Regions from separate parts of the Homo sapiens genome. Here all the other regions are linked to region 7. The links are contacts of gene promoters, found by promoter capture Hi-C in blood cells and fetal thymus (Javierre and others, 2016). All regions are on one chromosome and are shown on one strand. The core of a region is centred on a gene start or on the middle of the fragment in contact, and the rest is flanking DNA. Distances in the headings are between cores, read along the strand shown. Region 1 overlaps LARP1B (La ribonucleoprotein 1B). Region 2 has its middle 64 kb from the start of PGRMC2. Region 3 overlaps LARP1B (La ribonucleoprotein 1B). Region 4 overlaps LARP1B (La ribonucleoprotein 1B). Region 5 overlaps PGRMC2 (progesterone receptor membrane component 2). Region 6 overlaps LARP1B (La ribonucleoprotein 1B). Region 7 holds the start of JADE1 (jade family PHD finger 1).

Evidence for each region. Contacts are between HindIII fragments. The CHiCAGO score rates a contact against its expected background, and 5 or more counts as called.
Region 1: a contact is called between a fragment that was not itself captured here and the fragment with the promoter of JADE1 in region 7, in 14 of 17 cell types (megakaryocytes, erythroblasts, M1 macrophages and 11 more). The highest score is 11.3, in megakaryocytes.
Region 2: a contact is called between a fragment that was not itself captured here and the fragment with the promoter of JADE1 in region 7, in 5 of 17 cell types (megakaryocytes, endothelial precursors, M2 macrophages and 2 more). The highest score is 10.4, in megakaryocytes.
Region 3: a fragment that was not itself captured here is called in contact with the fragment with the promoter of JADE1 in region 7 in 1 of 17 cell types (M1 macrophages); the score reaches 5.9 in M1 macrophages.
Region 4: a contact is called between a fragment that was not itself captured here and the fragment with the promoter of JADE1 in region 7, in 1 of 17 cell types (megakaryocytes). The highest score is 5.1, in megakaryocytes.
Region 5: a contact is called between a fragment that was not itself captured here and the fragment with the promoter of JADE1 in region 7, in 9 of 17 cell types (naive CD8 T cells, total CD8 T cells, total CD4 T cells and 6 more). The highest score is 8.0, in naive CD8 T cells.
Region 6: a contact is called between a fragment that was not itself captured here and the fragment with the promoter of JADE1 in region 7, in 16 of 17 cell types (megakaryocytes, naive CD8 T cells, naive CD4 T cells and 13 more). The highest score is 28.4, in megakaryocytes.

Annotation. Positions count from the first base shown.
Region 1 is chr4:128,205,826-128,209,941 of GRCh38, reverse strand. LARP1B (La ribonucleoprotein 1B) reads right to left here. Exons shown (of 20, transcript NM_018078.4): 18 at 3,405-3,514; 19 at 2,559-2,686; 20 at 1-86. Among named protein-coding and RNA genes, the nearest start is that of PGRMC2, 80 kb to the left of the region's middle. The HindIII fragment of the contact is 1,661 bases long and covers 827-2,487 here.
Region 2 is chr4:128,222,034-128,226,135 of GRCh38, reverse strand. It overlaps a transcript of LARP1B not described here. Among named protein-coding and RNA genes, the nearest start is that of PGRMC2, 64 kb to the left of the region's middle. The HindIII fragment of the contact is 472 bases long and covers 1,150-1,621 here.
Region 3 is chr4:128,151,333-128,155,219 of GRCh38, reverse strand. The region is part of intron 11 of LARP1B (La ribonucleoprotein 1B); the gene reads right to left. Among named protein-coding and RNA genes, the nearest start is that of LARP1B, 92 kb to the right of the region's middle. The HindIII fragment of the contact is 6,075 bases long and covers 1-3,887 here.
Region 4 is chr4:128,169,033-128,173,212 of GRCh38, reverse strand. The region is part of intron 12 of LARP1B (La ribonucleoprotein 1B); the gene reads right to left. Among named protein-coding and RNA genes, the nearest start is that of LARP1B, 110 kb to the right of the region's middle. The HindIII fragment of the contact is 3,716 bases long and covers 195-3,910 here.
Region 5 is chr4:128,266,625-128,270,382 of GRCh38, reverse strand. It overlaps PGRMC2 (progesterone receptor membrane component 2), which reads left to right. Exons shown (of 3, transcript NM_006320.6): 3 at 1-1,141. Among named protein-coding and RNA genes, the nearest start is that of PGRMC2, 19 kb to the left of the region's middle. The HindIII fragment of the contact is 3,045 bases long and covers 250-3,294 here.
Region 6 is chr4:128,186,980-128,190,955 of GRCh38, reverse strand. All of the region lies in intron 15 of LARP1B (La ribonucleoprotein 1B), which reads right to left. Among named protein-coding and RNA genes, the nearest start is that of PGRMC2, 99 kb to the left of the region's middle. The HindIII fragment of the contact is 3,724 bases long and covers 64-3,787 here.
Region 7 is chr4:128,808,054-128,812,150 of GRCh38, reverse strand. It overlaps JADE1 (jade family PHD finger 1), which reads right to left and starts at 2,451. Exons shown (of 11, transcript NM_199320.4): 1 at 2,274-2,451. RefSeq lists silencers at 1-208, 389-488, 609-888, 1,519-1,638, 2,149-2,628 and an enhancer at 1,939-2,048. The HindIII fragment of the contact is 6,052 bases long and covers 1-3,235 here.

The DNA.
Region 1 (4,116 bases), core at 408-2,907, 600 kb after region 7:
GAATTAGGTGGAAGTCTATGACGATTACTCTCCTCACCAGAAGTAGAGGAATGTCTTTTTCTTCCAAATTCATCACTAATAGGGGGCTGCAAATGATGAAAGGCAACACCGTTGACAATTTTACTGTTTTTCCTCCCTTCAGAATCTAAGGCTAGACTTTTCCCCAAAAAAGTAAGTTAAATGGACACTTCAGTATAATTTTTTTTTTTTTTTTTTTTTTTGATGGAGTCTCATTCTGTCACCCAGGCTGGAGTGCAGTGGCGCGATCTCGGGTCACTGCAAGCTCCGCCTCCCGGGTTCACGCCATTCTTCCGCCTCACAGATTGTATTAGTATAACAAAAACTTAACAGCAACTTAAGGTACTAAACTTAAATTTCCTTCCTAACTAAATCAGCCTACTAGTATTTGCTCATTCTTTTACTCAACATATGTTTGTGGTTTTTGTTTTTTGTTTTTGAGACGGAGTCTCACTCTGTAGCCCGAGTGTTTTTTTTGTTTGCTTGTTTTTTGTTTTTGTTTTGAGACAGAGTCTCACTCTGTAGCCCAAGCTGATGTGCAGTGGTGCCACATCGGCTCACTGGAATCTTTGCCTTTGGGGTTCAAGCGATTCTCCTGCCTCAGCCTCCCAAGTAGCTGGGAGTAGAGGCGCAAGCCACCACACCCAGTTAATTTTTTCGTATTTTTAGTAGAGACGGGGTTTCACCATGTTGCCCTGGGTGGTCTCAAACTCCTAAGCTCAGGCGATCCACCCGCCTCGGCCTCCCAAAGTGCTGAGATTACAGGCATGAGCCACCATGCCTGGCCTCAACACATGTTTACTAAGCTTCTCTCATTTTTTAGGGCCTGAGCTATCTGATGGGGCATAACTATAAGGCTGGGTTCCTTGGCTCCAAGAAAATGTTTCAGCGAGGCTATTTGCCTTCTTTATTAATTTCATCAACTGTAAAGGATTTGTATTTCCAGTCTCTTTCTCAATCCTAAACTCCTATTCCAGGCTTGCTTAAGTGAAAATGTTTAAATAACAGATAAATGAAAGCAGTAGGGGAATAAAAGAGATGCCAAGTTAAATTATCGTTAGCAAGTTTGAAGGTTTATCTAGAATTCCTATGATGAGACTGGAGAATATTATTGATGGCACCAAATTTAAACATCTTCAAACGTTTAAGTACCCAGTGAAAAGGTATCCTGCATTCAAAAAAAGTCAGCTTTTTATGCCTTTCCAGTTACCAAGATTTGGGAGCCCAGAACTGGACACCAATGAACTAGTATTTTTATGTGGAGCTAAACTAAGATAGTAACCTCCTCATCCAATCTTCCGTTGTACTTAAAGAAGGAGGCCTGAATTCTTAGCTTATGTTCAGATGGGGCAAGAGTCTCAAATATAGAGCAAGGATGTCTTTGTGACAGAACTGGCTAGGCCACTCTAGAAAAATAGCTCTTAATTCCAGAGACAGGCACTTTTATTAACCCTATCCCTGGGTCATCAAGTCCATTTACACAAAACTGCAAGACAAATTACAACACAAAGCAGAGATGATGAACCTAGCCTTCCTTTTACTTCTTTCCTATTTTTAAATTTAAAATTTTTCTTCTTCCCTTTTTTTTTTTTTTTTGAGACAGAGTCTCATTCTGTTGCCTAGGCTGGAGTGCAGTGGCACAATCTCTGCCCACTGCAACCTCCACCTCCCAGGTTCAAGCAATTCTTGTGCCTCAGCCTCCTGAGTAGCAGGGATTACACACGTGCACCATCACACCCAGCTAATTTTTGTATTTTTAGTAGAGACAGAGTTTTGCCATGTTGACCAGGCTGGTCTTGAACTCCTGGCATCAGGTGATCCACCCGCCTCGGCCTCCCAAAGTGCTGGAATTACAGGTGTGAGCCACCACACCCAGGCTTTTTCCTTTATTTTTTATTTATCTTCTTCCTCCTTTTCCTCTATCTTCTTACATTCGTGACATTTTTTAATGCTTTTCTTTTCCTCTTGAAATCAAATGGATAAAGCCTATATAAGTTCAACCTTCCACCAAAGGTGATGAGAAGAACGCATGAGAGTGGACATCGTTGTAAGATGGCAGCAAAAGGACCTTGTCTGGCTGACTCAACTAAAAGACACCACTCTTGTGCTTGCACACATGCACACAACATTCTCTCCTTAATTTTATTATGCAGGTACCCTAAATCCATATCAGCACATGTTACAGGAATTATATGGATAAAAGATCATTAAAAAGTGAAAAGTTTTCACATTGCTAGTGACAAATTAGCATATCAGGTAAAAATTAATAAATCTAGAAAATGTTTAATTATAGCAGCATATGAAAATTAAATTGAATTAACAATTGCACTGTGGTTATACAAGATGTTAACATTTGCGAAATCTGAGTGAACAGAGTATATGGGAATTCTCTGAACTATTTTTATATCTATTTCAAAGTTTAATTTTAAAACTAAAAAGTTAAAAAATAAAAATTACAAAATTAAAGCTTAAAAAGTCACTGATAAGAGACTGAAATATATGGATAATAAAAAGAATAGAGGAAATGACTTAAAACTTACATCAACACGGAAGTCTTCTAACCTCTTAAAACTACAGAGGTATTCCTGAAGTTTTGGGTCAATAGACTGTGTCTTAGATTGAGAATATTTCAAATAAGCCCAAAACTTTTCTAGTCCATACAGCTGACCTAATAACAAAGAATAATATACATTATGAATTATATGAAATTTTAAAAATTATTCACATTAAATATAATCCTATCAGCAATAAACAATTTATCTTCCAATATATGCTTACTCTAGATCTTGAGAATAAGACATGTAATGAATTAACCAATAATGGCAGCTAATATTTATTGAGCATTTGTTATGTAACAAGCATTAAGTGCTTTATTATGCATCAAACTAATTTGAACCATATACAACCCAAAAGATGGGTGTTCTCATATATGTTACAGATGAGAAAACTGAGGCTAGCAAGGGTAGGCAATTTACCCACAATCACATAGCTTCTAAATAGTGGAAAGGGAATTTGCACCTAGCAGTCTGTCCCAGAGCCTGCACTCTTAACCACTGTGCTATTTCTGCCTTTCCAAGCTTACCTGCTGATGTTGCATAGAATTTTCATGTAACGGAACATCAGTGAGTAGCCACGTTTGTCAAAGGGATAATGACAAAATATACCTCCATAAAAGAAAGACTTGAGAGTAGTTACTTTCCAACACCTCCCAGGAAAGGCCTTCTTACTACCTGGTGCCCCATCCTTCATCAAGAAACACAACAATAGCATGAAGATCTTAAATGGTTTGCCCTGAAGAAAAAAACTATGAACTCCTTCCCTATTTACTGACAGACTCAGGTTTACAATTTCCAATTAGAGTACAAGTTTTCTGATGTTATTGTTACCAGATTCGTAGTCTTTTTTGGTTTCTTCTTGGAAATCCTGAAAAATTTCTCGCCTGAATTTTTTTTCCAGTCCATAACTATAAAACCTGAACAGACATTCTAACCCATACCTATAAAGAGAAAATAAAAGGTTTATAATAAAATACAATATCTCTATAGTTAGTAACATCAATATAAGCAAACATGGCACAACTAATCCTAAACAAAAAATAAAATTTTAGCATTCAGATTTTTTAATTATTTTTGAGACAGAGTCTCACTCTTGTTGCTCAGGCTGGAGTGCAATGGTGCGACCTCGGCTCACTGCAACCTCCGCCTCCCTGGTTCAAGCTATTCTCCTGCCTCAGCCTCCCGAGTAGCTGGGATTACAGGTGCCCACCACCACATCCAGCTAATTTTTTGTATTTTTAGTAGAGACGGGGTTTCACCATGTTGGCCAGGCTGGTCTCAAACTCCTGGCCTCAGGGGATCCATCTGCCTCGGCCTCCCAAAGTGCTGGGATTACAGGTGTGAGTCACTGCGCCCGGCCGGTATGCAGATTTTTAACTGAACTGGTAATTAGTAATCTACAGCTGGCTTTGCTATTTTTGTTGACTCAGCCGTAGCACATCATGAAGGTATACTGAGAACCTGCTGCATGAAAGGCAGCCCTTGGACAGTTCAGTATGACCTCTTTAGATGCACACATTATCTCTCCCTGGTATTTCTGAAG
Region 2 (4,102 bases), core at 136-2,635, 580 kb after region 7:
CTTTTGTCAGTGCATTTACACTTTTTTGCTTGAAAACCCCCTAAAATAATTTTCATAAGCTATATATCCCTCATGAAGCTTTAAGCTGACATCTAAGCTTTTTATAATTTTAAATAATTGCATAGGTCATAATTTCCAGCATATTATAAATTTCATTTTAAGCGAATCCAACGAAATCCAAATATATAACATTTGGATCTATTTTTTTAAATATATGAGCAAGTTATTCTTTAACTTTTAGAAAGCTTACATCTTTCCTTTTTCTCCTTGAGCTTGTATTCTATCCCATTTTTTCCAGATTTTTATCATAATGTTTTTATGTTTGAAAATATTATTGACCAGATATGTAAATGTATTAAAACAAAAATAAGTACATAATTTAAAATTTTACTTTACTCTGACTATAAGTGGTTCTAGTTGATAAAAACTTTTCTTGAGTTATTACAAATATTAATATAGAATTGATCGAGACAACAACAATATATACACATTTTGGTAATTATTAAACATAAGTAGTAAATTTGTTATTATCACTTAAGTTAATATTAGCTACTGTAACAGATAAAGTTCAAAATCTTGTGGCTTAATATAATTAAAAGCTATTTCTTGATTTAATATAGAGTCCCCAAAAGGACTAGGTAGTGATTCAGGGCTACTCCTCAGGGCTCTGTTGTTTTCAACATATGGCTTCTGTATAGCTGAAGAAGAAAGGAATGAGCATGAAGATGGCACGTGGCCAAGTCTAGAAGTGGAGCCCCTTACTTCATCTGCTTTCCAATAACCAGAACCAATTATATTGGCAAACCTGAAAGAGCAGGAGGACAGGAATGCAGTCTAGCATTCTAGAAATGCTTTGGGTAAACAGCTCGACAATCTTGGCCACAGATTTACTGGAAATGCCTGTCTTGAGAAAAATCATGATTCAACTTTTAAAATAAATCTAATGAAACAGAATGCTTTAGTCTACTAAAAACAAATTTAGCAGCTATTTTTAAAATAATATATTTTGTAAATAAAAAGTTAACAATTTTAAACATTTTGTAGGATGGACTCATAGTAATTGTAATGCATATTTTATGATTTGATAAAAATGTGTTCTAAATCCCTCATTGAATAATACAGTGTACACTAGCCACAATATACAAAGCTTTACCCATAAATATTTATAAAGAAGAGAAATTTAGCAAGTCTTGTGGGTTTATGATAGCTCAATGAATTACTATGAAGATTTCACCTATGTGTGGCCCATGACAGCTTGCATAACTACAGCAGTATTTGGGATAGGTCAGGACAATGCCTTTCTTTTATAAAGTGGAGGAAAAAAATTAGGAATTTGTGCACCTTTTCTCCTTCTCCTCTTCCTCCTTTTTTGTAGAGACTGGATTTCGCTATTTCCTCAGGCTGGTCTCGAACTCTTGACCTCAAGTGTTCCTCCCACCTTGGCCTACGAAAGTGCTGGGATTACAGGCATGAGCCACTGCACCTCCCAGGAGTTTCTAAAGGTGGGAGTTTTTGACAAACCAATTAAATATTTTGATGCCTTCCCTTGGCCCTTGAATTAGACTATATCCTCTGTTTCACTCAATAGGACTTTTAACGTAGTAGTACTAACAATGAAGCTTTGTTCAGGATCAAGAATCCCCCAAAGATAACACAATAATTACCCTGAATCAACTGTGTAAAGCTTTAAAAAATCAAGCAAGTATGTTTAGCTATAACCATACTTCAATCTCATATACAGTTCCATTCCCTGGATGATGGCTAGAAGGATTTCTAGTTACAGCCTGCCTTCTATCAGTCTTCACTCTTTTGGCTCTTATGTGTTTTATCTCTTCAGCACTTGTGATATTGTTTAAAATACCTTACATATTTGAATGTGGCTTTTGCTGAGAAATTAAAAATAAATAAATATAAATAAAATATCTTACATATATTGTCCTTGTATAGTTTAAGAATTTAGGCAAAATATTATGTTATATATGCCAGATGTCATGATAGTTATTTTAGATGACAGGATTTCAAGATATTCCTTCCATCTTTCCTCCTCTTTTCTTTCCCTCTTTCTTTTATTCTTCTTTGTTGGAAATATAATGGTAACCAAGATAGACAATATTCCTGACTTCTCATAGTTGAGAGAAGGTAAAATGCAAAGATTGGAATGAAGTTTTACTTGGGTAATAACTTCCATGATATTCTTTTTTATTCTGAAAATATCCTTATTACGATTATTTGAGCTATTACTATATCACTTTAGCAAAGTTTAGGCACTAGTGATTTAAATAACATAGTCAAGGCCGGGTGCAGTGGCTCAGGCTTGTAATCCCAGCACTTTGGGAGGCTGAGGCAGGCAGATCACCTGAGGTCAGGAGTTCAAGACCAGCCTGGCCAACATGATGACACCTGTCTCTACTAAAAGCACAAAAATTAGCCAGGTGTGGTAGCGTGCGCCTGTAACCCCAGCTACTCAGAAGGCTGAGGCAGGAGAATCGCTCGAAGCCATGAGGCAGGCTGTTGCAGTGAGCCAAGATCGCACCACTCCACTCCGGCCTGGGTGACAGGGCAAGACTCCATCTCAAAAAAATTAAAATAAATAAGTAAATAACATAGTTGAATGGAAAAATATGACAAGTATGAAAAGTTTCAGGAATAGTCATTAGAGATTGGTTCTAGGAAATTGTGCCGATATGCTTTAAAGTGAATATAATGGTATCAAGTTCATTTCAATACATTCATGCACCAAGTCAAAAACTGTATTGTATGTAATCCACAAACTTTAAGGTTTTGAAAATAAATTTTTATTAAATAGCTAAATATTACCTAGAATATGAGAACCTCCATCCAGGCTTCCTAGAAACCTATACTGTAATCTTCAAAATAATAAAACAGGCCAGGCGCGCAGTGCTCACGCCTGTAATCCCAGCACTCTGGGAGGCTGAGGAGAGAGGATCAATTGAGGTCAGGAGTTCAAGATCATCCTGGGCAACCTGGCAAAACCCCATCTCTACAAAAATAGAAAAGTTAGGCGGACATGGTGGTGCATGTCTGTAGTCCCAGCTACTCGCGAGGCTGAGGCACGAGAGTCGTTTGAACCTGGGAGGCGGAGGTTGCAGTGAGCCGAGATCTCACCACTGTGCTCCAGCCTGGGAGAAACAGGGAGACTCTGCCTCAAAAAAAATAACATAACATAACATAACACATATAAAATAAAATAAAATAAACATGTAGTGTTTATTAAAATGTAGAACAACAATAAAGCTGGCTGAAGATCAAGATAATCTGGTGGTCCGAGAAGTTACCTGCCTCCCCTGCGGGCTCTGCCTGTGGCCTAGATAAACCAGCTTTTTGCCTTCAGTGGTGGGCAGACACCAATGTAATTTGCTATTTCCACAATCCTCAATTGGAATGTCTATTGGAGACAGGTCTTAACACAAGTAGAGGAAAAAGCTGGTACAAATTTACCTGTAATAAAACTGACTTAAAGAGTAAGTTATTCCCCTTCTTGGGAATAAAGACAACTTCTCACAATAAAGACAACTTCTCTTGGTGGGAGGTAAATTTTTGTTGAAGTTGTTATCTAAAAGTTATTAAAAATGTCCCAGGGCAGAAAAAAAGTAAACAGAAATATGGTTTGTAAGATGCAAGTCAAACTTGGAAGTGGCATTGATGTGGGGTGGGGCGGCGACTGGAGTGTCACTGAGCCCAGGAGAGGTCACAGGAAGGCAGATTCTCATATCCTGCTTAGGAACTAGATGTTTATGATGAGCAGAAGTAATCGATCATGGTGATTCTGGGAAAACATAATAAGCAAAATTGTTAAAAAACAAAGGGAAAGAACTAAAACTGAAGGTGTGATTTCAGATTCATGGTAACTGCTTCATGGAAATCATGCTCTTGTCACTTGGTCAAGGTCAGTAGAAATAACGGCATCTAAGCAACTCTACTACTTCTCACATGGAAGTCAGTGAACCACCACAAGGGCAGAAAAGCATTCATAAACCACTATGTTAGGACAATAAAACAATTAAAATCAGACTTTTCCTTACTAATTAAAATGTTTTAAGTAGATTAATTTCCCATGAAAATTTAAAATTATATTCACAGC
Region 3 (3,887 bases), core at 30-2,529, 660 kb after region 7:
AGTCTACCACAACTGGATGCACAACCAAAGCCTAATTTTGGTTTTTGTTTTTGTTGTTGTTGTTATTTTTAATAAATTTATACCTTGCCTTGTTCAAAAAGGGACCAAAGAGATTTAATGATCTAATGGATATAAAAAAATTTGTAGCCTGGGCACAGTGGCTCACACCAGTAATCCCAGCACTTTGCAAGGCTAAGGCAGGTGGATCACCTGATGTCAAGAGTTCGAGAGGAGCCTAGCCAACATAGTGAAACCTCATCTCTATTAAAAATATAAAAATTAGCTGGGCGTGGTGGTGGGCGCCTGTAGTCCCAGCTACTCAGGAGGCTGAGGTAGGAGAACTGCTTGAACCCAGGAGACGGAGGTTGCAGTGAGCCGAGATCACACCATTGCACTCCAACTTGGGTGACAGAGCAAAAAACTCCGTCTCAAAAAAAATAAAATTTTGTAAACAGATTACAATTCAGTATAAGTCAAAAACAAACATACATATGTGGTGCAAAGGTAGAACAGGAGAGTAATTTTTCTGGGATTGAGCACAAAATTTATCAAATAAGATTTTCCTGGAAGAGTAATATCTGAACTGGGGTTTATTTAGCTAAAAGATAATGAATTTGGCAAGTAAACAATGTGAAAAGCCACTGCAGGCAGAGGAAACTGCACATGCAACTTGGTATTTATGGATACAAATTTTAAAGCAGAGAGCAACAGGACAATGAAAATATGTAAAAGCCAAATCAAGAATTCATGAATTCTTGCTTGCCAAAGAATTTGAACTTTATCCTGAAGGGGGTGAGGAACCACTGAATAGAATTAAGAAAAACAGAGAAATAATCATATTTATATTTTACGATGATGAAGGATTTTAGAAGGATGAAGGATTTTCCTTGGAATCATTTACTTTGAAAATAATGAAAGCCTGAAACCATCAATGGCCACTGTTGCTCCCACTCAGAGAAAGCGTAACTGAAAATGAAGCTAACACAGAGCAAAGTACACCAAAGATAGGGGTAAAGAAAAGCAAAGTCTTTCTTTGGTGTCTTATACAAAGCCTTGCCTAAAATCAAGAACTGCTTCTTGGACTTGTAGTAAATTATCTAATTTGCTAGGGAAAAAAAATGAAATGAGAAATAAGGAGGAAAGACTACTCTGACAAGAGTTAAGCTAGAAAGAGAATGAACTAGAGCCAAGAACATCCTATAAAACTTCTATAGAGAGATGACGCATGGCAGTAGGAATGAATATGAAAGGACTGATAGGACCTAGTGACAAACTGCATGTTAGAAGTTACGATAAGTGGATGGGGATTCCTAAGGCATCCAAGCAAAATAAAAAATATAGGTTTGGGGTGGGTTTTCTTTCATTTTTTAAAATGAGAGACAGAATATAAAAAAGATGCCTATGAAACATAAGACAAATAACTGGAGAATTTAGTAGGCTACCGGTAATATAGTTCTAGAGTCCCACAAAGACACAAGGGAGTCATTAGCATACAGTTAATAAATAAAAACCCAAAACTTAAGAATAGAGTCTATCATTTCTAGACAAGCTATCAAAATAATAAGAGAAGTAGGCCAGGGATAAACCAGGGAAGACCACATTTTAAAAGGCAAACTGGCCAGGCACTGTGGCTCATGCCTGTAATTCCAGCACTTTGGGAGGCCAAGGCGGATGGATCACGAGGTCAGGAATTCGAGGCCAGCCTGGCCAAAATGGTGAAACCCCATCTCTACTAAAAGTACAAAAATTAGCCAGGCGTGGTGGTGCACGCCTGTAGTCCGTGGCTGAGGCAGAAGAATCGCTTGAATCCGGGAGGCGGAAGTTGCAGTGAGCCAAGATCGCGCCACTGCACTCCAGCCTGGGCGACAGACTGAGAGTCTGTCTCATAAATAAATAAATAAATAAATAAATAAATAAATAAATAAATGGCAAACCAAGGCCAGGCGTGGTGGTTCATGCCTGTAATCCCAACACTTTGGGAGGTCGAGGCAGGCGGATCAGCTGAGGTCAGGAGTTCAAGACCAGCCTGGCCAACATAGTGACACCCCGTCTCTACTAAAAATACAAAAATGAGCTGGGTGTGCTGGCGGGCACCTGTAATCCCAGCTACTGGGGAGGCTGAGACAGGAGAATCGCTTGAACCCAGGAGGTGGAGGTTGCAGTGAGCCAAGGTTACACCATTGCACTCCAGCCTGGGTGACAAGAGCAAAACTCCATCTCAAAAAAAAAAAAAAAAAAAAAAAAAAGGCAAACCAAAATTGTAAACTTAAAACTGTAAAATAATAAATCCTGTTGTGTGTTTTATCACAATTAAAAAACAAAAGTAAAAAAGGAAGAGGGCAACAAGACCACTTTGTTGTGCCATAAAATATAAATGTGCTGAACAGATGACAACATGCTGGTTATAAGCAGGAACCATCTTGAGAGAGCTCTAACCTGACTAGGTTTGAGATATTCTGAACATCAAAATGAATGAGGACAAGAATGGATAGAAATCCATGTTGGAGTCCATACTATCACTAAAAAGGGAGAAAATTAAAATATAAAAATAAAAAAATGAAGTGGAGAGGAAAGTTCTTCTTTATAGAAGAATACTAACAGACATATAGGGAATAACAAATTTAAAAATCACCATCTAAATAAAAAAATAAAAATAAAAAATAAAAAACATTAACCTAAAAAATAAAAAAATAAAAAATAAATAAAAATCACCATGTTGGCCGGGCGCAGTGGCTCACACCTGTAATCTCAGCACTTTGGGAGGCCGAGGCAGGTGGATCACGAGGTCAGGAGTTCGAGACCATCCTGGCCAACATGGTGAAACCTCGTCTCTACTGAAAATACAAAAATTAGCTGGGCGTGGTGGTATGCGCCTGTAGTCCAAGCTACTCGGGAGGCTAAGGCAGGAGAATCGCTTGAACCCGGGAGGTGGAGGTTTCAGTGAGCCGAGATTGCGCCACTGCACTCCAGCCTGGGGACAGAGCGAGAGTCCACCTCAAAAAAAAAAAAAAATCACCATCTTATAATAAGCATAATAGCTGATTCAAGCAAAAATCACCAATGGAAGCTAAAATACTGAATAAAGACTGTTGGGGAACACAGTTTTAAAATATCACTCCAAGGATCATTTATTAATTACAAAAGAGAAAAGGTACATTTACAGTGAGCAAATCTGGTAGATATCATCATAACCAAATGACCAAATCACCAATTCTAACCACATCAAATTTTGTAACTGACATCACATGTCTCTGGAGAGCATATACTAAACAAGGCACATTGCCTATGTAATGTTCTTGTCAAAAATACTTAACCTGGCTGGGCGCGGTGGCTCACACCTGTAATCCCAGCACTTTGGGAGGCCAAGGTGGGCAGATCACTTGAGGTCTGGAGTTCGAGACCAACCTGGCCAACATGGTGAAACCTTGTCTCTACTGAAAATACAGAAAATTAGCCAGACATGGTAGTGCATGCCTGTAATCCCAGCTACTCAGGAGGCTGAGGCAGGAGAATCACTTGAACTCGGGAGGCAGAGCCTGCAGTGAGCCGAGATCACGCCATTGCACTCCAGCCTGGGTGACAGAGCGAGACTCCACCTTAAAAAAAAAAAATCTTAACCTGAAGCTAATCATATAAAGATATCGGGCAAATCCAAACTGAAGGACAAAACAACTGGCCTGAACTCTTGAAAAACATCAATGTCATGAATAGCCAAAAAGAAAAAAAAAGGCAGCACAACTATTCTAAATGAAAGAACATTAAAATTATATGACTCTCAAGGCAATGTGTGATTCCTGTCTGGAATTGACTTAGAAAAAAATAAAAGAAATTATAAAGGACAACTGAGACAACTGGAGAAATGTAAATATAAACTGCATATTCAATAA
Region 4 (4,180 bases), core at 803-3,302, 640 kb after region 7:
TCAGCCAATGGGCCACAATTTGCTGGCCACTGAACTATAGCGGTCAGATAGATATGAATCCAAATCCTGGATTCACACTTTGCTAGCAAAAAAACAAAATCATAACTATATTTTGTGTATTCAATAAAGCACAGAAAAACATAAGCATATTAAAATATATATATAGGCAGTATAAAAGAGAACCCAATCAAGCTTCTAGATGAGAAAAGGACAACAGCTGAGATTTTAAAACATACACATACACACACACACACACACACACACACACACACACATTGGATGGGATTAAAAATAGACTCTGTAGAAGAAAAGGCTAATAAACTTGAAGAGAGGAATAAAAGTTACCTAAAACAAAAACAGAGTAAAAGGACTGAAAAACAACAACAACAAAACAGAGCATTAGTGAAGTATGGGACAACTTCAAGTGCCCTAATATAAATTTTAAATGTAATTGGAGTCTTGAGAGAAAGAGAAAAAAGTAACAAGAAAACATTATTAATTTTCTTTTCTTTTTTTTTTTAAGACAGAGTCTGACTCTGTCACCCAGGCTGGAATGCAGTGGTTTGATCTTGGCTCACCGCAACCTCTACCTCCCGGGTTCAAGTGATTCTCGTGCCTCAGCCTCCCAAGTACCTTGGATTATAGGTGTGCGCCACCACACCCAGCGAATTTTTGTATTTTTAGTAGAGATGGGGTTTCACCATGTTGGCCAGGCTGGTCTCGAACTCCTGACCTCAGGTGATACACCCGCCTTGGCCTCCCAAAGTGCTGGGATTATAGGCATGAGCTGCCACACCCAGCCTATTAATTTTTTAATTAAAATTTTAAATTTAAAGGAACAGCTGAACACTTTCCAAATTTGATTAAAAATGTATAAACACACATATTTTAAAAATCCAGTGAGTTCAAGCACAAGAAACATGAAAAGTACACCAAAGCAATCGTAATTAAGGTGCTTAAAATAGGTGACAGAGGAAACATTAAAAGCAGCCAGAATCAACAGAAATTGAACCGAAAACAGAAAAGCAACCTCAACAACAGAAAAAAAAAGAAATTGAAAAAAAATAATCAGCCAATCCTTAAGAACCTGTGAGACAACAAAAGGTCTAGGAGAGAAGAAATGCAGGGCTAAAAATTTTTTTTGAGGAAATAATAGCTGAGAACTTCCCAAATTTGTCTAAAGTCAAACCTACAGATTTAAGAAACAGAGAATCCCATCCAGGATAAACCCAAAGAACTCCATACCAAGGCACATCACACTCTATTTGCTGTAAATGTCAGATGAAAAAAAAAAAAAATCTTGAAAGTAGCTAGAGATGCATTACTTGTAGGGAAACAATTTGAATGACTATAAATTATTATACCAAAAACCATGGAGGACAGAAAGGAGTGGTACAACAGTTTTGAATCACTAACAGAAAACAATTGTCAGTTCAGAATTCTTTATCCAGTGAAAATATCCTTGGCAATGAGGTGAAATAAAGACATTCTCAGAAGAAAGAAAACTATAAATCATAGCCAACTGAACTGCTCTAAAAGAATTGCTAACCTGAGTATTTCAGACAGAAGAAAATGATAACAAAGGAAACCTGAAACATCACAAATAGAGGAACAGCAAGATAAACGGTAAAGGTCCAGATAAATATAATAGACTATTCTCCTTTTAAGTTATTTAAAACACGCTTGAAAGTAAAACACGCTTGAAAGACAATCAAACATTGTCTGATGGGCTTTTTAACATATGAAGATATATAAGACAATTATTACATAAAGAAATTTCAGCTGAGTGTGGTGATTCATGCCTATAATCCCAGCACTTTGGGAGGCTGAGGTAGGAGAATCTCTTGAGGCCAGCCAGCAGTACTAGACCAATCTGGTCAATGTAGTGAGACCCTGTCTCCACAAAAAATAAAAAAATTAGTTGGGCTTTGTGGCGTGCACCTGTAGTCCGACCTACTCGGGAGGCTGAGGTGGTAGGATTGCTTGAACCCAGCAGTATGAGGCTGCAGTGAGCCATGACTAGACCACTGCACTCCAGCCTTGGCAACAGAGTGAGACCCTATCTCTTGGGGTGGGGCCGGTGGGGAGAGAAAGGAAAAAAAAAAAATCTCTATGGAGGTTAGGTTTCTACATTCTTATTGAAATGGTAAAATACTGATTCCAAATAAACTGAAAAGTATGTGTTTTGCAACCCCTAGAGCAATCACTAAAAACAATTATACAAAAAAAGATATATATGTCCAAATTCATAGTACATAAATTAAAATGTAATGGAAAAAGTTACAAACAACACAAAGAATGCACAAAATGGGCAATAGAAGCCAAAAAAAAAAAAAAAAAGAAAAGAAAAAGAAAATGAATAATAAAAAGGTTGACCTAAATCCAAACATACCAATAATTACATTAGTCAAAACATACCAATTAAAAGATATACTGTCAGACTGAATAAAAAACATGAACTAACTATATGCTATCTATAATAAACTGACTTCAAATATAATGATATGGGTACGTTAAAAGTAAAAAGTTGGCAAAAGATACATCACATACCATGAGAAAGAAATGAAAGAAAGCTGGAATGGCTATATTAAAATCAGACAAACTAAATTTCAAAGCAAACAAGGACAACATATATGAATGAAAGGGCCAATTCACCAAGATGACACAATATACCAATGGGTATAAGGTGAACTAACAAAAGAGCTTCTAAATAAATAAAGCAAAATACAACAGAACTGAAATAGGAAATAAACAAGTCTGCAATTATAGGTGGTGACTTCAACACTCCTCTCTCAGTAAGACAGAACCAGTAGACAAAAAATCAGCAAAGATATAGAACTCATCAACACCATTAACCAACTGAATTGAACAGACAATATGGAACATTCTACTCAAAAATAGTGTAATAAACATTCTTCTCAGATGCATATGGCATATTCACCAAGACAGACTATATTGTGGGTGATAAAATTAGCAAATTAATTAAACAAATTTGAAATTAACAAATTAATTTTAAATTTTAAAATAATGTAAAGTATGTTCTCTGGCTATAATATAATTAAACTATATATCAATAAGATTAATAACAGAGGGGTAACTGAAAAAATTCCAATCACTTGGAAATTACACCGAATACACTCCTAAATAATCCATAAAGAGGAAGTCTCAAAAGAATTTAGAAAATGTTTTGAAAAGAATAAAAATTAATAAAATACAGCATATCAAATTTGTGGAATGCAGCTAAATCAGTGCTTAAATAAAAATACATAGAATTAAGGGCTGTGCTCATGGCTCATGCCTGTAATCCCAGCACTTTGGGAGGCCGAGGTGGGTGGATCATTTGAGGCCAGGAGTTTGAGACCGGCCTGGCCAACGTGGTGAAACCTGGTCTTTACTAAAAATACAAAAATTAGCCAGGTGTGGTGGCACAGACCTGTAATCCCAGCTACTTAGGAGGCTGAGGCAGGAGAATCGCTTGAACTCAGGAGGCAGAGGTGGCAGTGAGCCGAGATTGTACCACTGCACTCCAGCCTGGGCGACAGGGCGAGACTCCGAGATTCTGTCTTAAAAAAATATATAGATAGATAGAGATAAAGATAGAAATAGAGATAGAGAGAGAATATTAAATGCTTATATCAGAAAAGAAACTCTCAAATCAATAATTTAAACTCTCCCTTAAAAATTAGATTTCAAAAAAATAGATTTCAGGAAGATATCCAAATTTTAAAAATTAAACAAAAACACTTCTAAATAGCTGATGTATCAAAAAATTAAAAAGAAATTAGAAAATATATAGAACTGAATGAAAATCAAAATACAATAACACCTAAAATACTGCTTAGGTGGAAATTTGTAGTATTAAATGGTTATAATAGGAAAGAAAAATGGTGTCAAATAAATGATCTAAGCTTCCACTCAAACTAGAAAAGGAGGAACAAAATAAGAAAAAAGGAAATAATAAGGAGCAAAAATTAATAAACCTGGAATAAAAATAAAGTAAATCAATGAAAATAAAACTTAAAAAAATTAAACTGATGAACCTCTAGCTAGATCGATCAAGACAAAAAAGACACAAATTTATAAATAGTAGGAATGAAAGAAGAGATATCTCTACAGAACCTACGAACAGTAAAAGGAGAAAAAGAGCATATTATAAATTCCAGGAAATGAATAAATTCAA
Region 5 (3,758 bases), core at 523-3,022, 540 kb after region 7:
CAAATGCATTCCCCCATGCTTTTCTGTTTTCAAAAAAATTGAAAAACAAATCAACTCTTATCCCCAACAGCTGCCTAATTTTAGGAGTCTGACCCTCCACATCTCACTGGTGTGGGTGCATGGGGCTGTGGAGTGGGTGTCAGTATGGATGTGTCTGAATGTGTGAGGCCTTGGAAGGGACTCTTTCTGCAGATACTGTAAATACAAGTACCATTTTAATAAAGCATGTACAATAAACCAAAATAAGCTTGAGTTGGACTTTATATACAGAACTGTAAGCCAGTGCATTATGATACAGTTGTAAGATTGTGCATTTGATTCAAGATAAGGAAAAATCTTGGAAATGAAAAGCAGGCACTGGTTAACCAAGTTGTACACATTGTACCACATTCAGCATAACTTTAGGAAGAAATTCCACTTTGTGGAACATTCTCCAGAAATCCAAGATTATTCAGGTAAGAATTGGTATATTAAATGTACATCTTTTTACTTTCTATTTTGATGCCAACTGATTATACTAGACAATTAGCACTCCAGGTGGTTATTGAACACAAAACAGTAAAAGAATATTGCACTGATAGATACTAAATTATTATTTTATTAGGTTGAAAAAGCCCTTACTAAAAGCCCCTCATATATCAATTACTTTATTTCATTATGACTACTTAGGTTCCGGGCTGGGGACAAGTTCACTTAAAAAGGCAATGTTATTTAACAGGTCACCAGTTAAGACTTCTGCTTTGTAGATACATGCAGAAGCCATCAAACAAGGGGGAGCTTTTAACTGCAACAATAAGCTAAAGTATGTAAAATACTACATTCTATTCAGTCTTGGAGTGTTTTGTAGAAAGTTATCTTCAGCCAAATCTTTGCTGAAGACTGGTTGTGGAGTGTTGGTAAATGCTTTGTGTTTTTATGTAAAATATTTTCTAAACAAAAAATGTTAAAAGTACATGTCCTCTGTAGTAAACTGATATCTATATATATGAATCATTCAAGCCTAAAGTCTAGTAATAAACTGTACTTGTGAATAGAGAAACCCTAAATATTCATGCAGAAAAAATTATGCGGTCTGTTAAGAAAAATGAGTAATTTGTGTTTTGGACTTGAAATAAACAGTGTTCTGTAGATAATTCCTCAACTTCAGTTGAATGTTTCTCATTCTCAGGTAGTTTTTCAGGCAGTATTTGAATGAGGGGACCAGACAGTGCTGGTATTGTTCCTTTGTTCCTGTTCCCCGCTCCCCCCTCCACACAGACAGACACATGCACACACACACACACACACTCCTGCTTAGCCCTATTTTCGAAACTTGCCTGATAATTAGAATTGCTTAAGGTACAGATTCTTAGCCTTCAATCCAGACGTACCACCCGCTAAGCCAGAATCTTTAAGAGAATGGGCCTCAGAATTTATTTGTAAGGAATACCTCAGGTAATTCTGATCAGGAACACTTAGGAAACACTGGTTTTTCAAGTTAATATTGACCATCTTTGTTAGGCACTTGAAATGGCCTTACTCAGGTAATTTTGGTCTGATTCCCTTCATCTGGTTTTGTGTCATTCAGAAGACTTCACAAAATTCTAATGTATGATTTTAGAAAACAGCAAATTTTGATAGTCTTTAGATTTTTATCTTTGGGTAGCATTTCCAAGTTGTCATATTTCCCACATTAAATCTACACTGTGTGTACTAGCCAGTTTCTCTGCATTAGGAAATGAACCCATAACAGTTACAGATCAGGTTTTTAAAACCTTGACCATGGTGCTAAGGCTGCTTAGGTTTCCTAACAGTAATTCTACGTGCCTTTCTGTAGGTAGATCTGTTTCTGCAGGTAGATCTTCAGAATCCAACATTACACCTACCTTTACCCACATTCTTGAACCTAATTTGCTGAATTACCACTGGGAGATATTTTGTTCTATAGAAAACAGATATTTTCTACAGAATCAGGCTGTCCTTATCCAAGTATTTCACATAACCTCTATTGATAACAGAAGTGCAGCAAGTTGCTAGTAAGATGTGCCATTAACATGTTAACAGTGTGTAACTACAGAGCTTTTATGTGTCAGAATAAGCGGGTAATACTGTAGTAAAGAATTTATAAAACTTTCAAGTTGCTTTGAGTATATTGAAAATAAGAGTCATGGAATATTGTAACAGTGATACTGAATGAATTGTTCTAATTAAAGTAGCAAATGCTTAAAAGATAGCTTTTGAGTATGTTCCATTAAGGTCAGCCATCAATTTGTTAGATGATACTCATCACTGATTATTTTCTATTTGACTATGGCAAGAAAGCTCCAATAAAGACGACCCAACTTTCCTGTTTTTAGGCAAAAACCATCATTCCTAGGCACTGTTAGAAAAGCACGTACAGAAAAATTGCCATACTCCTGAGTCACTTTGAGTACCAGCTTTGCATTTGTTCTACCACCACTAGTGGCTGAGAGCACATTTGGGCTGCCTGTAATTACTCCATTCAAGAGAGCATTTGACATGCTATGAACACTGGCTTATTCCTAAAATTTTTCTTTTACAGTATCCACACAAGATCCAAGAAAACCACATCATGATGTTTAGTGTAAGAAGACCAATATTTGCATATGCTTTTAAATACTTTGAAAGCATGATTTTAGTGGCTGCATAGTATTGTTCCCAAATAATAAAGTTTTTAATGAAAATGCAGGAAGTTCTGTAGCAGGATGAGCTGCAGACAAGAACCCCTCAGACACCAAGTTGTGGAAGCAAAGGGCTTTATTCAGCTGGGAGCATCGGCGGACTCAAAAACCGAGCTCCCCAAGTGAGCAATTTCTGTCCCTTTTAAGGGCTTACAACTCTAAGGGGGTCTGTGTGAGAGGGTCGTGATCGACTGAGCAAGCAGTAAGAGTATGTGACTGGGGGCTGCATGCACTGGTAATCAGAATGGAACAGAAAAGGACTGGGATTTTCACAGTGCTTTTCCATACAATGTCTGGAATCTATAGATATAACATAACTGGTTAGATCAGGGGTTAATCTTTAACTACCAGACCTGGAATGCAGTGCCGGGCTGTCTTACTGATTTTGCTTCTTTCTTTTCTTTAACTCCTACTTTTTCTTTGAGGCAGAAATTGGTCATAAGACAATATGAGGGGTGGTCTCCTCCCTTATTCCCCCACATTGAGAACCTCACTCATTAGTGGGAGTTCTCACTTCCATCCTCACTACCCATGTCTTCTTGCAAGACAGGTCATGATTCATATAGCACATTTGTGCTGAAGCATTTTGGTGAACTAAGGTAGCAATGAAGCTTTTTATCATTTGAAGTACAGGTAGCAAACAAAGGAACAGTAAGCAGGTTCCTATTACTATTATAACTCCTATTATAAGAGTTTTAAATCTTCCTAGCACTGGGAACCATTTTCCAAACATGGCCCCAGGATTAAATCTATGCCACACTTGCACAGGCACATGTGCCAGTTTTGTCATTTCTAACTATGTCTTAAACTACTTGCCCTTGATCATCTATGTGTAGACAGCAATTAATAAGGTTAAATTTCCTACAGACCCCTCCTTCAGCTGCTAGCAAGTAGTTGAGAGCCCATCTATTTTGATAGATAGTATTTCTCATCTGAGTTTCTTGCTGGGCCAGAATAGTCAAGGCTCTGCCAGTTTTATTAGTGATTATTTCTAAGACAGTTTGTAACCATATGATTCAGTTGAGCATGCAAATTGGGGTCCGGTATCCCCACGAGCCATCTTGTGCCTAAGTAGCA
Region 6 (3,976 bases), core at 676-3,175, 620 kb after region 7:
AAAAGAACAAATGTAAGAGCCACTGGCATTCAATGATGAGTTAAGAGCAAGGAGTAGTAAGCTTATTCAAAGAAATAACAGAAAACATTCCAAATCTAAAGAAAGATATAAATATCTAGGTACAGAAGGTCAGAAATTACCAAATATATTTTTATTAGTCCATTTTCACTCTGCTATAAATAATACCTGAGGCTGGGTAATTTATGAGGGAAAGTGGTTTAATTGACTCAGTTCCACATGGCTGGGGAGGCTTCAGGAAACTTACAATCGTGGTGGGAGGGGAAGCAGGCACCCTTACACTGCAGCAGGTGAGAGAGAGTATGTGTGAAGGAGAAACCGTCAAACACTTATAAAACCATCAGATCTTGTGAGAACTCACTCACTATCACAAGAACGGCATGGGATAAGTGCCCCCATGATCCAATCACCTCCTACCAGGTCCCTCCCTTGACACATGGGGATTATGGGAATTACAATTCGAGATGAGACGGGTGGGAACACAAAGCCAAACCATATCAATATTCAATCCAAATAAGAGTATCCCAAGGCAAATAATAATCAAACCTGAAAATGTCAAGGACAAAGAGAAGATCCTTAAAACAGCAAGAGAAAAAAAATAAAAGAACATATAAAAGAGCTCTGATTTTTTTGGCAAGAGACTTTTCAACAGAAACCAAACAGGCCATGAGGGAGTTAAGTGACACATTCAAAGTGCTACAGGATAAATGGAAACAAAAACAAAACCTGCCAACCAACTATGCTGTACCCAGCAAAGTTTTCCTTCAAACAGGAAGGAGATATAAAGTCTTTCCTAGACAAAAGCTAAGGGAATTCATCACTACTAGACCCATCTTTTCAGAAATGCTAAAGGGAGTTCTTTAATTTGAAAGAAAACAAACTTTGATGTGCAAAACCAAAAATGTTTGAAGGTATAAAACTCACTGGTAAAAGTAGACAAATTCAGAATGCTCTAATGCAGTAATTGTTACATGTAATCCATTCATATCTCTAATATGAAGACTAAAAGACAAATCTACTGAAAATATTAACAGCAACCTGTTAAGAGATAGGGAAGATAAATAGATGTAAATTAAGACAACAAAATGTCAAAATGTGGGAGGATGGAGTTGAAGTGTAGAGTTTTTTAGTTTTTCCCTTGATTCTTTCCTTTTCTTTGTGATCAAAGTTAAGTTGTCATATGTTTAAAATAACTTACAGCTATGGCTTTGGTAAGCCTCATGGTAACCACAAAGCAAAGACTTATGATAGATACACTAAAAATAAAAAGCAATGAATTAAAACATACTCCCAGAGAAAAACCACTTAATCACAAACAAAGGCAGTAAGAAGGAAGTAAGGGAGGAGTTACAAAACAACCAGAAACCAAGTAATGACATACTGCGTAGTAAGTCCTTATCTATCAATAATAATACTGAATGTAAATGAACTAAATTCTCCAACCAAAAGATATAAGCATGGCTGAGTGAAAAACTTTTAGAAACAAGATCCAACTATATATTGCCTACAAGAAACTCAAATCACCTATAAAGACACACATAGTCTGAAAGTGAAGAATGGAAAAAGACATTCCACGCAAATGGAAGCAAAAAAAAAAAAAAAAAAAAAAAAAAGTAGCCATACTTGTATCAAACAAAATAGAACAAGTGAAAGTCTGTAAAAAAAAAAAAAAAAAGGACACGGAAGGTCACTGTATGATGATAAAGGAAAGGATCAATTCAGCAAGAGGCTGTAACAATTTAAAAATATATGCACCCAATTCTGGAGCACCCAGATATATTAAGTAAACATTAATAAATCTAGAGGAGAGATAGACTATAATACAAATAATAGCAGGGGGCTTCAACACCCATCTCTCAATAATGGACAGATCATCCAGACAGAAAATCAACAAAGATACAATGAAGTTAAACTACACCTAGACCAACTGGACCTAGTGACATTTATAGAACATTTCACCTACTACTGCAGAATACACATTCTTCTCATTAGCACATGGAACATTCTCCAGGATAAAACATATGTTAGGCTACAAAACATGTCTCAACAAATTTAAAAAAGTCAAAATCATATCAAGTATCTTTTCTGGCTACAACAGAATAAAAATAGAAATCAATAACATGAAGAATTTTGGAATCTACACAAACGTGGAAATTAAACAACATGCTCCTGAATGATCAACAGATTAATAAAGAAATTAAGAAGAAAACTTCAAAATGTCTTCAAACAAATGCAAATGGAAACGTAACTTTCCAAAACCTATGAGATACAGCATAGCAGTACTAAGAGAGAATTTTATAGCAATAAATGCCTACATCAAAAAAGTAGGTTTCAAATAAGCAACCTAACGATGTACTTAAAAGAACTAGAAAAGAACAAATCAAACCCAAAATTAGTAGAAAGAAACAATAAAGATCAAGGCAGAAATAAATAAAATTGAGACTAAAACAAGTACAAAAAATCAATGAAATGAAAAAGTTGGTTTTTTGAAAAGATAAACAAAATCAACAAACCTTCAGCTAGATGTATTAGGCTGTTCTCACATTACTATAAAGAAATACCCAGCCAGGCGCAGTGGCTCATGCCTGTAATCCCAGCACTTTGGGAGACCAAGGCGGGCGGATGACCTGAGGTTGGGAGTTCGAGACCAGCCTGACCAACATGGAGAAACCCCATCTCTACTAAAAATACAAAAATTACCCAGACATGGTGGTGCATGCCTGTAATCCCAGCTACTCAGGAGGCTGAAGCAGGAGAATCACTTGAACCCGGGAGGCGGAGGTTGCAGTGAGCTGAAATCACACCACTGCACTTGAGCCTGGGCAACAAGAGCAAAACTCCGCCTCAAAAAAAAAAAAAAATACCCGAGACTGGGTAAATTATAGAGGAAAGAGGTTTAATTGGCTCATGGTTCTGTAGGCAGTACAGCATGATGCTGGCTCAGCTTCTAGGGAGGCCTTAGGAAAACTTACAATCATGGTGGAAGGCAGGGGGAGCAGCACTTCACATAGCTGGAGCAGGAGGAAGAGAGACAGTGGAGGTGCCACACACTTTTAAACAACCAGATCTCACAACTCACTATCACAATGACAACTCCAAGGCAGATGGTGTTAAACCATGAGAAACTGCCCCGGTGATCCAATCACCTCCCACCAGGCCCCACCTCCAATACTGGGGATTACAATTGAACATGAGATTTGGGTGGGGACATAGATCCAAACCATATAATTCTACCCTGGCCCCTGCCAAATCTCATGTCCTTCTCACATTGCAAAATCTAGTCATGTCTTCCCAACAATCCCCCAAAGTCTTAACTCATTCTAGCATTAACTCAAAAGTCCAAAGTCTCATTTGAGACAAGGCTAGTCCCTTCCACCTATGAGCCTGTAAAATCAAAAACAAGGTAGGTACTTCCAAGATACAATGGAGGTATAGGCCTTGGGTAAATACACAAAAGGAAGAAATAGCCCAAAAGAAAGGGGCTACAGGCTGCATGCAAGTCCAAAGCCCAGAAGGGCAATCACTAAATCTTAAAGTTCCAAAATAATATCCTTTGACTCCATATGTTACATCCAGGGTATGCTGGTGCAAGGGGTGGGCTCACAAAGCCTTGGGCAGCTCCATGCCTATGGCTTTCCAGGGTTTAGCCCACATGGCTGCTCTTAAGGGCTGGCACTGAGTGCCTGTGGCTTTTCGAGGCTGAGGATGCAGGCTGCTAGTGGATCTACCATTCTGGGGTCTGGAGGACAGTGGCCCTCTTCTCAAAGCTTCACTAGGCAGTGCCCCAGTGGGGAGTCTGTATGAGGGATCCAACCCCACATTTCCTCTCTGCACTGTCCTTGTAGAGGTTCTCCATGAGGGCTCTGCCCCTACAGCAGGCTTTAGTCTAGACATCCAGGATTTTCCATACATCCTCTGAAATATAGGCAGAGGCTCCCAAGCCTCAACTCTTGCATTC
Region 7 (4,097 bases), core at 1,202-3,701:
CTCCATTTGAAAGTGGCCACCCCCCGCCGCGGCAGCTCCTCCCGCCCCGCCGCCGCCAGCTGCACCAATCCGCTCGGCCCCAGTTGCAAATCAAACGCTCCCTCGCGTCCAGAAGCCACTTGCGCCGCTGGAAACGGCCGCGCCGTCCCCCTCCCCGAGTCCCTCCGGGGCGGCACCTTCGGGCTGGGGCGGGCGCGCCGGCGAGAAACGGTTTTAAGATGGGAGCGGCAGCGGCGGCGAGGAGCTCCGAGCGGGCTCGGCTCCCGCTCCCGCTCCCGCCCCCAGACAGTTCTGGAAACTGTGTATCACCTCTGTCACAGGAAGCCATCCGGCGAGGAAGGCGGCGCGGAACCAACAAACAAACGCCTGCGGCCGCCCGCCGGAACCGGCGCGGGGACCGCGTCGGGCTTCGGGCCGTTCCCGGGGCGGGGGCGCAGCGGCCACCCCCGCGCCGCGGGCTTTGTGCGGGGCGGGCGCGGCGGGCCGGGCGTCCCCGCCCCCGCAACCCCCCACCCCGGCCCGGGCGGCGCAGCTGGGACCGTTAGGTGACGCTCCGGCCGCAGCGGAGAAGCAGCGCCTCGGCCGCCGCCCGCCCCCATTTCCACACTGGGCCGCCTCTCCTCAAACACCAGAGGCGGGCTACAAAAGTTGGCCCCGGGGCCACCCAGCACCTGCCCACGTGCCGCGGAGGCTCGCTCCCGAGTCTCCCCCGGTTCCCTCCCCCGCCGCCCTCGGCCGCCAGGTCACCTATTACCGGTGGGAGGGGAGAGAGGCTGCTATTTAAACGCCCGCGGAAGTTGAGGCACCCCCACTGGCGGGTGCCGTGCACCTGCCTCCCGCCGCCGCGCTCCGCCACTTTGAGCAGCAGCCGCGTCCTCAGCCCCGCCTCCTGCCCGAAGGCGGGCGGGGGGGAGCGGGAAGGAGGTGGAAGGGATCGAATTTCTCCAGCAAATGGGACCGTTCCGACAGGATTCGGTTCCCCGGTCAACATTCCACATTCCATCCCTCTCCCGCATTTGCAAGCCAATGCCGAGCAACCCGGAAAGCCTGCTGGCTACCGAACAACAGCCCCCAACTCGCAAACACAGACTCACAGGCACAAGACACGTGCACTGAAGGGCTCTGCAACTTGCAGTCCCGGGGTACACACTACACGTTCATTTAAGGAAGCAAGGAGACCAAGAGACCCCACCCCCACAATTTGCAGATGGTGCCAAAGGTTGCAATTTGCAATCCCCTTTAAGTTCACGATTAATCGGTACTTTGCTCTACCAACGCCAACTCCTACCCCATTTCATCGATTAAGGGGTTTTACACTTTACAAGCAGTCGCGCTGTAAGTAAAAGATCTGATCACTGGAAGCCCAGTTCGGAAGAATCTAATTGCCAAACTGTCCCTCCACCCCCACCCCCACCCCCCTCTCACTGCCCTTGAATTGATGCAATGAATATTTTGGACATGTGGTGACGCGGTGACAAGAGCCAGGGCTGCGGCCACCACACACAGATGTACCTACGCACACCTATGTTTGGACAAATACAGTCCCACCACACACACGGTCTCACACACTCTGGATTCATATATGTACGCGAACCTGCGTTCTGCCATTGCCATCTGTCTACCAAGTTGCTACTATGCTTTCCACTTTCATGCAGCCTAATGCACTTTGGCTTTCTAAAAAAAAAAAAAAAAAAAAAAAACCTATAAACTAAAGCCAACTTAAACTGGGCTTCTGCTCCTAAACGCGTTTAATTGATGATTCACCTGAAAACCGCATGTTCTTCGCAAATCCAAAAGAAGAAATAGCTCTAAGTCTTCAGCCCCCCAAATTTGAAAAAAAAAATCATAATAAAACTTACTGATCCAACATAGATCAATTCTCAGGATCCAAAAATCATCCTCTCCTCCTCCTCCGGCCCCCGCCCCGGCAATGCCCAAGTTACTGGTGGGATAGTAACGCTGCGCTCAGCGGCTGCCTCCCTCCCTCCTCGCTACAGATCGAGAACCCAATCTTTTGGCGCCATATTAATGACGTATTATATTATTTCCACTAGGCAGCGACCTTCGGCATTAAATTACTCCCGAGAACTCCCGAGCAAAGCAACAAAACCATCAAATATGGCTGAGCCTCTCGGCTCGTCCTGCAGCCGCCGCCGCCGCCGCCGCCGTCGCCGCCGCGGGACCGGGACGCGCACACGGACCCACACGCGGACACGCGCGGACACACGCGCGGCGCGCCCACCCCGCGCGCCCCCCGCGGCCCGCGCGCGTACCTGCTGCGGAGGGGTTCGGCCGAGGCGCTGGGCTGGGCGCCGCTCGCTCGCTCGGAGCTGCATGAGTTCGGGCCGCGGCGGGCGGGGAGCCGGGCGGGCCCCTGCTCTCGCCGGCGCGCACACACCGGGCACTCGCGCACGGAGGCACTCTCGGTCTGGCGTTTGGCTTGTTATGGAGGAAGGACTATGTGAATCAAACTCATTTCTGGGTCACTGCTGCCACAGGGGGGAGCACTTTAATCCCTTGCCAAAACGAGAGGGTGGGGACGGGAGGGCGGAGGGAGCATGCGGGGAGCCCGCGGCGCTGGGGCTCGGTCCCTCGTTAACTCTTCGCAGCCCTAGCCGCAGCCGGCTCAGCCTGCGCCAGTGGGGGCTCGCAAAGAACGGCACTGTTCAGCTCTTAGTCTCTTTCCTTACTTCACCCACCTTGTGAGCCTAGAAATTCTTGAGGTGTCTCCAAGCAAGTGGGTTTTTAAATTAGCCCCTTCAAACTGCTGTCCCAGTTTCAACTCTTGTCTGACATCTAGAAATGGATTCTTTCAGAATAGTTTAAAATTACGTAGATTAAAATATGGCTATTAAGATGTGTCATTTGGGTGAAAGGTTTTATTTTTAGGCTGAGTGGCAAAATAGTTGTTTGTAGTAACAGTTTTAGGGAGTTGCACATTAGGATGACATTTTTAAATAGAGAGAATCCAATTCTGAATAACATCTTTACCTAAATTTGTATGGAAGTGATCATTGCAAATGAGCATTAATTCATTAGAAGATATTATTTATAAATTGACACCACTTTATGTTACACATTACTACAGAATTGGACATCTTCTCCCAAATATGAGGAGTGAGCCTAATGCTAAAACTAGAATTGCAGACTAGTATCAGATCAGTCATCGGAGATTCATTTGGGGGTATTTATGTGTAAAAAGGAGTGGTTACTGATTTTCTGCAGAAGACAAGCTTGCTTTTTCATATAGAGGGCAACATACTTCTTTCATGGATTCATCTAGGGAAATAGAGGGGTATATGACATTCAACTTCAATAAGAAAAAAGTACGGATTAAAAACTCCCATTCAGGCCGGGCGCGGTGGCTCACGCCTGTAATCCCAGCACTTTGGGAGGCCTAGGTGGGCGGATCACCTGAGGTCGGGAGTTCAAGACCAGCCTGACCAACATGGATAAACCCTGTCTCTACTAAAAAATACAAAATTAGCCGGGCATGGTGGTACATGCCTGTAACCCCAGCTACTGGGGAGGCTGAGGCAGGAGAATCGCTTGAACCCGGGAGGTGGAGGTTGTGATGAGCCGATAATGCGCCATTGTGGTCCAGCCTGGGCAATAAGAGCGAAACTCCGTCTCAAATAAATAAATAAATAAATAGGAACAGTGATCACTAATTACAAAATTGAATATCGAACCCAAAAGGCATATGTGTCCACCGGAAGAATCTTTCTGAATATATCAGGTTTGATTTCATGTAATCCCACACCAGCCCAACTACCCACATCCAGACCCACATCCAGAACGTTATAATCTGATAAATGCGACAAAACAAAACTAATTGAGCCTTTCAGTTATTTTTCAGAAAACAAAGTAAGCCAGTGGAAATCCTAAGTACTGTATATGTCCTCTCCTGTTTCGCTAATGAAGAGTAGAAAGACTCCCTGCCAGTCCTATTCATGTGTTCACTTAATCCTGTTCAAAGCGATCACACATGTAAAGCACTGTGTTAACTATCATTATTACTATTCTTAGTATTGCACTTGTTATTGTTATTTTTACTGGTTCACCTCGCACATACTCTCTGTAGAAGTTAAAGTACA